Regions from separate parts of the Homo sapiens genome. Here region 2 is linked to region 1. The links are contacts of gene promoters, found by promoter capture Hi-C in human tissues and cell types (Jung and others, 2019). All regions are on one chromosome and are shown on one strand. The core of a region is centred on a gene start or on the middle of the fragment in contact, and the rest is flanking DNA. Distances in the headings are between cores, read along the strand shown. Region 1 holds the start of SLC37A4 (solute carrier family 37 member 4). Region 2 has its middle 40 kb from the start of CXCR5.

Region 1 (4,982 bases), core at 1-2,500:
CGGAAGGAGGCATGCCTGTGAGCCAGGCCAGCACCCTGTGTCCCCAGGATTTCTGCCTTTACCTCCTCTATCATGTCTGCTTGCCTGTGAAACCAGCTTTGATTAAAGGTTCAACCTAATTACTTTTGTCTGCCTGAGCCCAGGGGAGGCAGGGGTGGGATGAGCAGAGATGCCCTCTCTAGCCCTGCTCCCTCAGTCACAGAACCTTCTCATTCATTCACGGAAGGTTTATTAACTTACTAGTTGACAGGCACTGCACTTGGCACTATTAGTTTCTACACCCACTCACCACCACCGCACCAAAACACAAAGTCAGACACATACCCCGGCTACCCCACTTCTAAGCCTTCTAGAGAGGGCCTCAATCCGTGGAACTCTCAATACTTAGCACATAATAGATTTAATTGTTTCCTACAGTTGCCCCTTGTAATTCTGTGCAAGGGGGACCTCCCCAGTTCAGGTCCCACGGTGTCACACAGAAAGCCCCGCTAAGGGCTGAGGTCCTGATGGGGCCCCACAGAGCTACCTCTGGGTCCCCATTACCCTGCGACGTCAGTCTGGGCTTCCTTCGGGCTAGCTGGGGGCTGCAGGGTCTGGTTTCCAACCTGTGGGACGTTGGCAGGGGCCGCAAGCAGAGGGACTGGGCAGCTCGTGGGCGGGAAGGTGCCCCGGCGGGCTTCGGGCTGCAGGGCACAACCGTCCCGCCCAGGGCCCCGGCAACATGCCCCGGCTTTTCCGCTCAATTGGGAAAGCAACTGGAGCAGAAGGCGTAGGCGCACGCGGAGCGGGCGACCGCACGTATTCTCCCGGAGGCCCCGCGCTTCTGGCACCCAGAGGCTCAGCCTGGTAGGGGAGGGCCAGGCGGCGGGCGGGAGAGGAGGAGAGGCGGCGGGCGGCGAAGAGGCGGCGGGCTCGTGGCACCTGCCCAGCCCCGTGGGTCCTCACGCTACCCAGGACACGCTACTGTGCGGCTGGGAACCACGGGGGCCGGGGGTGCAGGAGCTGGAGAGGTGCGGAGACCACAGGACTGGCGCGATAGAAAGGGGTCTCGTGCTGGTGGTCAGGGACAGCGCCTCGGTGGCCCCAAGACCCATGAATTGTCTCTGGAACTGCAGGAACAGCTCCGGGTCGTATCGGAAGTTGGGGTTCGCCAACAATGGCTCCCCAAGACCTGAGATCCCCGCCCTCAGGTGACTCCCCTCCCCCGCATACCGCCTCCTACCTGAACAGAGGCGGGAGCCCGAATAGGACGGGGCGGGGCTAGCGAAGGCTGCGCAAGCGCGGCCGGCGGGGGCGTGGTCTTCGCCTGCTGCTTCGCTTGCCGGCCAGTGGAGTTCCCCGCCCCACATGCCGGGGACGTCGACTTACTCCCTCCCGCTGGTCACGCTGCTCCTTGGACGAACGAGCATAGCGCCCCTTAGGGGCTGGGCACGGCATGTCCAATTCTTAAGTGGTTGCATTCAACAAACCAGTTTTTAGTGAGTGCCCTCCTCTACAAAACACACCGAACACTAAGGTGATAATCATTGTTCCCAAGTTGCTCACAGTCTGGGAAAGGTGTTGTAGGAACACACAGTATTTTCTTTTTTTCTTTTTTTTTTTTTTTGAAACAGTCTCGCTCAGTCGCCCAGGCTGGAGTGCAGTGGCGCGATTTCGGCTCACTGCAAGCTCCTCCTCCCGGGTTCACACCATTCTCCTGCCTCAGCCTCCCGAGTAGCTGGGACTACGGGCGCCCACCACCACGCCCGGGTAATTTTTTGTATTTTTAGTAGAGACGGGGTTTCACCGTGTTTGCCAGGATGGTCTCGATCTCCTGACCTCGTGATCCGCTCACCTCGGCCTCCCAAAGTGCTGGGATTACAGGCGTGAGCCACCGCGCCCAGCCCACAATTTGGAATTTTAACTTGTGGTTAGATTGTTGGGGACAGAGACGGGGCCTGGAGTAAATATCAAATTCTAGTCCTAGACCCACAGCATTCTAACTGTATGACCTTGGTTAATCTCTATGAGCTCCCGTTTCCTACCAGCCTGGTAGATCATTGTGAAGACTCAACAGATGATTTAGATAAGAGCTCAGAAATTCTATAAGAGTTCTCAACAACAATGGTTTTCACTGATCCCAGTTAAGAGTTGTGAGGAGTAACAGTAGTGATGCTATTTTACAACAATGATGACTGTGTTCTCAGAAACAGAGCAAATGTTAACCCTGCCCATAGCTTCAACAGAAGGTAACATAGCCTAACAAAGTCCCCAACAGTCCCAATCAGCCAGCACTTCCCGACCTCTCCCCAATAGAAACGATATTATAAAAGCCTCAGCTTGTAAGCGATCAGGGTCTCAGCCAGACTCCTGACTGGAACTCCTTGCAGGCTTATTCCTGTGAATAAACCTGTTTGGCCGTTGAGTTGCCTCCTGTCTCTCGCTCTCTTCCCTTATATCTTCCTAACAAGAGTGGCTGAAGGAATTGTAAGTGTTCCAAAATTGAGAGCAAAGATCTTTTACTCCAGAGAAGATGGTCAGGGAAGGGAGGAGGAGGAGATGAGATAAAATAGGATGACAGGCCGGACGCGATGGCTCATGCTTGTAATCCCAGCACATTGGGAGGCCAAGGCGGGCAGATCACTTGAAGTCAGGAGTTCGAGACCAGCCTGGCCAACATGGTGAAACCCTGTCTCTACTAAAAATACCAAAATTAGCCAGGCTTGGTGGCACACGCCTGTAATCCCAGTTACTGGGGAGGCTGAGGCAGGAGAATTTCTTGGACCTGGGAAGCAGAGGTTGCAGTGAGCCGAGATCGTGCCACTGCACTCCAGCCTGGGTGACAGAGCGAGAGCCTGTCTCAAAAAAAAAAAAAAAAAAATAGGATGACGATGTCACTGAACTTCGTTAATTCAAAATCGGGGAGGAGCCTAGTTTGTACCAGGCACTGTGCTTTCAGCCAGGTAGATCCAAGGACCAGGAAACAGTTCCTCCGAAACCAAACCAGAGCAGATTCTTACTTTACCTAATAGAGGAGTAGGAAGCCATCAGGTTTTTCTCCGCTTTTATTTTTAAGATTTAACATACACATAATAAAATACAAAAAGTGCAGGAATCTTACATGTACAACTCAGTGATTTTTTACACATGTTAATACCCGTGTAACCACCACCTAAATTAACAGCCCTATCGTTTTGTTTTGGAAGTGGAGTGATCTCAGCTCACTGCAACCTCCTTCTCTGGGGTTCAAGCGATTCTCCTGCCTCAGCCTCCCGAGTAGCTGGGATTACAGGCATGCCCCACCATGCCCAGCTAATTTTGTAATTTTAGTAGGGGTAGGGTTTCTCCATGTTGGTCAGGCTGGTCTCAAACTCCTGACTTCAGGTGATCTGCCCCCCTTGGCCTCCCAAAGTGCTGGGATTACAGGCATGAACAACTGCACCCAGCCAACCCGGTTAATTTTTCTATTTTTTGTAGAGACAAGAGTTTCACCATATTGGCCAGGCTGGCCTCGAAATCCTGAGCTCAAGGGATCCACCTGCCTTGGTCTTCCAATATCCTGGAATTACAGGCATGAGCCACTGTGCCTGGTCGATGGTGTTTATTTGTTTGTTTGTTTGTTTTTGAGACAGAGTCTTGCTCTGTCGGCCAGGCTGAAGTGCAGTGGCAGGATCTCGGCTCACTGCAACCTCTGCCTCCTGGGCTCAAGCCATTCTCCTGCCTGAGCCTCCTGAGTAGCTGGGATTACAAGCATGTGCCACCACGCCCAGCTAATTTTTGTATTTTTAGTAGAGACAGGGTTTCACCCTATTGGCCAGGCTGGTCTCGAACTCCTGACCTCAGGTAATCCGCCCACCTCGGTCTCCCAAAGTGCTAGGATTACAGGCGTGAGCCACTGCGCCCGGTCTGTTTTTTTTGTTTGTTTGTTTGTTTGTTTGTTTGTTTTTGAGACAGGCTTGCTCTGTTGCCCAGGCTGGAGTGCAATGGTATCTTAGCTCACTCTAACCTCAAATTCCTGAGCATTGAGCGATCCTCCCAAGTAGCTAAGACTACAGGACCAGGCCACCTGGGTTCAAGCGATTCTTCTGCCTCAGCTTCCTGAGTAGTTGGTATTATAGGTGCCCGCAAACACGCCTGGCTAATTTTTGTATTTTTAGTACAGACAGGGTTTCTTTCTTTCTTTTTTTCTTTTTCTTTCTTTTTTTTTTTTTTTTTTTTGAGACAGAGTCTCGCTCTCTCGCCCAGGCTGGAGTGCAGTGGCACCATCTGGGCTCACTGCAAGCTCCGCCTCCCAGGTTCATGCCATTCTCCTGCCTCAGCCTCCCGAGTAGCTGGGACTACAGACACCCGCCACCACGGTCAGCTAATTTTTTGTATTTTTAGTAGAGACGGGGTTTCACTGTGTTAGCCAGGATGGTCTCGATCCTGACCTCGTGATCCACCCGCCTCGGCCTCCCAAAGTGCTAGATTACAAGCGTGAGCCACCGCACCCGGCGTACAGAGGGGGTTTCGCCATGTTGGCCAGGCTAGTCTCAAACTCCTGAGTTTAGGTTATCCACCTGCCTCAGGCTCCCAAAGTGCGGCGATTACAAGCATGATCCATCGCACCCAGTCAGTGGGAATTAAATGGAAAAACATTTTAAAGCACTTTATGATCAGGATAGTAGGGACTCAAATGCTAGTTTGCTCACTGTATTTCCAAAGAATGTTAAGAAATGAGAAGATAGGCCGGGCATGGTGGCTTACTCCCGTAATCCCAGCACTTTGCGAGGCTGAGGCGCGCGGATCATGAGGTCAGGAGTTCGAGACCAGCCTGACCAACATGGTGAAACCCTGTCTCTACTAAAAATACAAAAATTAGCCGGGTGTGGTGGTGTACACCTGTAATCCCAGCTAATCAGGAGGCTGAGGCAGGAGAATCACTTGAACCTGGGAGGCAGAAGTTGCAGTGAGCTGAGATGGCGCCATTGCACTCCAGCCTAGGTGACAGAGTGAGACTCCGT
Region 2 (4,982 bases), core at 1,825-4,324, 190 kb before region 1:
ATGGTAAAACCGCATCTCTACCCAAAATACAAAAGTTAGCCAGGCTTGGTGGGACACGCCTGTAATCCTAACTACTCGGGAGGCTGAGGCAGGAGAATCACTTCAAACCAGGAGGTGGAGGTTACAGAGAGCTGAGATTATGCCACTGCATCCCATCCTGAGTGACAGAGACTCTGTCTGAAAAAAAGAAAGAAAGAAAGAAAAGAAACTAAGAGGGAAATGAGATTGGATAGTTGGGGTGGGTGAGGACTCTCAGAAAGGAGGGAGGGCTTCCCAGCAGAAGAGGCGTGTTTTCGTGCGTAAGAAGTGGCTGGGGAAAGCGAAAGCAGTGGGGGCACCCATGATGAGACTGGCTGGCTCTAGAAACATTAGTGGGATTTCACCCACACTTGCTTGGGTAACTTTCTGTTGTCATTGGGAAGCCAGTGGGACTTTCTCGTCCAAGATGAACCAGGGCCCATACACTTGCCACTTTCACTTGTTCCTAGAGGCTGTGTCATGTCTTGGCTGCCTCAGGGTGCAGGGACTATGCTCATATAGTAGGAAGGTAACGGCATACACAAATTAGGTGATTACAGGTCTCACACTTGTCAGTTGGCTCCATTCAATTTCATACTTGGTTCTTTCTCTTCCATGATCTCTATTTTGTTTCTTGAACAGACCAGGACTCTGTAAGCTGAAACGTTTGGTAAATTCCCTTCCTTGCCAGTTTACACTGACTTTGTACCCACAGTTCAAGGCTAAATCCCTTTTTGTCTGGGCTAGTGGTTGCCAAATCCCTTTTTGTCTGGGTTAGCCATTTCATGTAGAGACTGCTTCTCTACCTATACGCTTATTCAAATGCAGTAGTGAAACAAAATCAATGCACAGCCATACAATTACTACATAGCCTGTGTAAAGAATGATGCAGATCTATTTATATACAAATATGGTAAGCTCCATAATATATTATTAGATTTTTAAAAAGTAAGTCTCCAGACAACATTTATAGTAGTGTTTTGCGTGTGTGTGTTTATAATTGCATAGATATAGTTCTGGAAGGATACATGGTAAACTCAACTCTAACAAGTGTGTATATGACAGGAATGAAATAACTCTACTTTTTAGTTTGTTTTAAAAGTATTTTAATTTGCAAGCATCACTTCTATAATGTGAAACAAAAATTAAAAACCTCAAACCGTTGCTCTTCTTGGAGTCACTTGAATTGGTAGCCCTGAAGAAAATTCCTAAATTAGACTTTCTTCTGTTCTTGACTGAACGAGGATGAATGAGTCACCCAATCCTGTGCCAGGTACAGGAATAAATGCTGGACAGTTACAGATGAAAGAGAGCATGTTGCCCTTTAAGGACTTCAAAGTTTACAGAGAGACCAGAAAACAAGAAATTAAAGTACAGTATGATATATGCCACAGAGCTATACCTTGGAAAGAAAAAGGATGGACAGCACAGACTTTAAAGCAGTAACAGGAGGTGGGTAGGAAAGCCTTCCAGAGAAGGTAAGAATCGAGAGGAGTCTTTTATTTTCCCTGTTACTTTATTATTAAAAAATGTCAAACATAACTGAAAGGTTGAAACATCTGCAGATCCACCACCTAGATTCAACGATTGAACATTTTGTTGTATTCACTAGATATGTAATACAAATAAACAAATGCAAAGCCATTTGAAGTTTCACCCCTAAATATTTAAACCCCAACTCCTAAGAATGACATTATCTTACATAACCACAATGCCGTTATCAAACATAAAAATAACATTAAGGGCTGGGCATGGTGGCTCACGCCTGTAATCCCAGCATGGTGACTCAGGCCTATAATCCCAGCACTTTGGGAGGCTGAGGCAGTGGATCACCAGGTCAGGAGTTCGAGACCAGCCTGGCCAACACGGTGAAACTCCATCTCTACTAAAAATACAAAAAATTAGCCAGGTGTGGTGGCAGGCGCCTGTAATCCCAGATACTCGGGAGGCTGAGGCAGGAGAATCGCTTGAACCTGGGAGGTGGAGGTTGCAGTGAGCCAAGACTATGCCACTGCACTCCAGCATGGGAGACACAGCGAGACTCTGTCTCAAAAAAAAAAAAAGGCAAAAATGAACCCCCCCGATTAGCTGGGACAACAGGCATGCCCCAAAACACCCAGCTAATTTTTGTTTTTTAAGTAAAAATGAGGTTTCACCAAATTGGCCAGGCTGGTCTCAAACTTCTGACCTCGTGATCCACCCGCCTCAGCCTCCCAAAGTGCTGGGATTACAGGCGTGGGCCACCACACCTAGCCACAAGTATTATTCTCTAAATGTCATTGTGGTTAGATGTGGTGACAGAAGTGTTAGTGAGCTCTAGCTTGTCCTTGCTTTGCTCTGATCAGTGTCCAGAAATGCTTTCCAATTCCTGACCCTGTTGACCACCAGTGACCACCAGACACTTGGTGATGGATCCACAGAGGTGGCGGCTGCCCAGATGGCTCTCCAGGAGCCTTCTCATCACAGCCCCATGTCAGTGGCCAGATGCACTTCCCTCCCCACATTGGTGACTCCTCTTTTGATTCTCTGACTAACCTCTTGGTCTTTCCTTTCCCCAGCTTCTTCTACAATTGTGTAAAGCATAGTTCCCATAATAAATTCCTTATCTCATCATTCATGAAGGTTCTACCTCCCTGACTGATACACTTACTGGTACTGGCCGTGGTTTCAGGGGACAGATCATTAAGGATAGGAATTGGAAACTGGTTCTCTGACCTGATTAAACTTAAGTGCATTCATGATTGTTGCCAGCAGTAAACTTAAATTCTTAAACTCTACCTGTAATCACTTGTGATACATGCTTATAGACGGCAAAGCTTTGGGTAGCCAAATATTTGCTGCTGTAGAACATTTTAGTAGAAATAGGAATGTAATGAGGAATGTTGGTTGCTTCTACATATGGGGAAAGTTTGGAGAAAGAAAATGATGAGCTAAAGGCTTTAAATTTCCATCTCAAGTTCTGGAAAATGGACCAAAAAACTTGAAGACTGCCTTTAAAAAAAACTCTCATCTCTGATAGCCTCAAGGTCAAGATTTCTGATCACCAAACACTAAGTGTCCACTTGCAGCAGACTGAATTTCAACGCAAAGTGAATTCATAACCTACCAGGGTGTCTTATGTTCAAAATAAGACATTGATTGGAAAGGAGTAAGACCCTGAGTCTTAGGATACAGACATACGGATGGATTCCTATGAGGTCAAAGACCTTAAACCAAGCTTGACCAACCTGTGGCCCTGCAGGCTGCATGTGGCCCAGGATGGCTTTGAATGTGCCCAACACAAATTCATAAACTTTCTTTTTTTTTTTTTTTTTTTTGGACAGAGTCTCCCTCTGTCACCCAGGCTGGAGTGCAGTGGCACGATCTTGGCTCACTGCAACCTCTGCTTCTTAGGTGCAAGTGATTTTCCTGCCTCAGCCTCCTGAGTAGATGGGATTACAGGCACGCACCACCACACCCAGCTATTTTTTTTGTATTTTTAGTAGATATGGGGTTTCACCATGTTGGCCAGGCTGATCTCGAACTCCTGACCTCAGGTGATCACCCGCCTCAACCTCCCAAAGTCCTGGGATTATAGGCTTGAGCCACCACACTCGGCCATAAACTTTCATTATGAGCTTTGGCCAGGCGCAGTGGGTCACACCTGTAATCACAGCACTTTGGGAGGCCGAGGCGGGTGGATCACCTAAGGTCAGGAGTTCGAGACTAGCCTGGCCAACATGGTGAAACCCTCTCTCCACTAAAAATACAAAAATTAGCCAGGCGTGGTGGCGGTCGCCTGTGATCCCAGCTACTTGGGAGGCTGAGGCAGGAGAATCGCTTGAACCCGGGAGGCTGAGGTTGCAGTGAGCCAAGACAGCACCACTGCATTCCAGCCTGGGCAACAAGAGTAAAACTGTGCCTCAAAAGAAAAAACAAAAACAAAAAACAAAAACCACAACAACAACAATAAAAAACATTATGAGGTTTTTTGTGATCTTTTTCTTTCTTTTTCTTTTTCTTTTTTTTTTTTTAGCTCATCAGCTATTGTTAGTGTATTTTAAGTGTGGCCCAAGACAATTCTTTCAATGTGCCCCAGGGAAGCCAAAAGATTGGACACCCCTGCCTTAAACCCTAAATTCAGCTAACCCTCCTTAGCCAAAAAAAAGTGACCTTCTTCTCTATCTGCAGTTAATCTTCCCTTACCTAAAGAACCTGGGATGACCTCCCCAGAGCTAGTGGCCTTTCAGGGGACTGTGATCCTCCTAGGAACCTAACCCTTCCACCTCTTTTAGATCTGTAAGCTCAGAGATTCAAGTCATAGCAGGCCCCAGGGTGACTCATGAGGAAATACCATACAAACCAAAAGAATATTGAGAGTTTGTCAATGTATACATTGCTTCATGTTTTTTTTTTGACATAGTTTCATATTTACAGCAAAGTTATAAGAATAGTACAAACAATTCCTTTTATATTTTACCAAGATCCTCAAATGCTGATTTATACTGACTGAAACTCAGGGAATAGGTAGGGGAATAGATCTTGAAAGAGTGGGATCAGGATGGAAGAAATATAATTTTGGATTTGGATAAATTTATTTATGTATTTATTTATTATTTTTTGAGAGAGAGTTTCTCTCTGTTGCCCAGGCTGGAGTGCAGTGGCACAATCTTGGCTCACTGTAACCTCTGCTTCCTGGGTTCAAGTGATTTTCCTGCCTCAGCCTCCTGAGTAGATGGGATTACAGGCGCCTGCCACCATGCCCGGCTAAATTTTGTATTTTTAATAGAGATGGGGTTTCACCATGTTGGCCAGGCTGCTCTCAAACTCCTGACCTCAGGTGATCCACTCGCCTTGGCCTCCCAAAGTGCTGGGATTACAGGGTGAGCCACCACGCCTGGCCTGGATGAATTTATTAATAAGAATGCAAACCCTAAAAAGCCTTTATCAGCCAGGTGCAGTGGCTCACACTTGTGATCCCAACA

Evidence for each region. Contacts are between HindIII fragments. The study calls those that stand out against the background at their distance.
Region 2: a fragment that was not itself captured here is called in contact with the fragment with the promoter of SLC37A4 in region 1 in 1 of the 25 tissues and cell types used here (pancreas).

The regions. Positions count from the first base shown.
Region 1 is chr11:119,029,627-119,034,608 of GRCh38, forward strand. It overlaps SLC37A4 (solute carrier family 37 member 4), which reads right to left and starts at 1,251. Exons shown (of 10, transcript NM_001467.6): 1 at 1,223-1,251. RefSeq lists a silencer at 706-865. The HindIII fragment of the contact is 21,386 bases long and covers 1-4,982 here.
Region 2 is chr11:118,841,267-118,846,248 of GRCh38, forward strand. No RefSeq gene overlaps it. Among named protein-coding and RNA genes, the nearest start is that of CXCR5, 40 kb to the right of the region's middle. RefSeq lists an enhancer at 226-275. The HindIII fragment of the contact is 5,445 bases long and covers 353-4,982 here.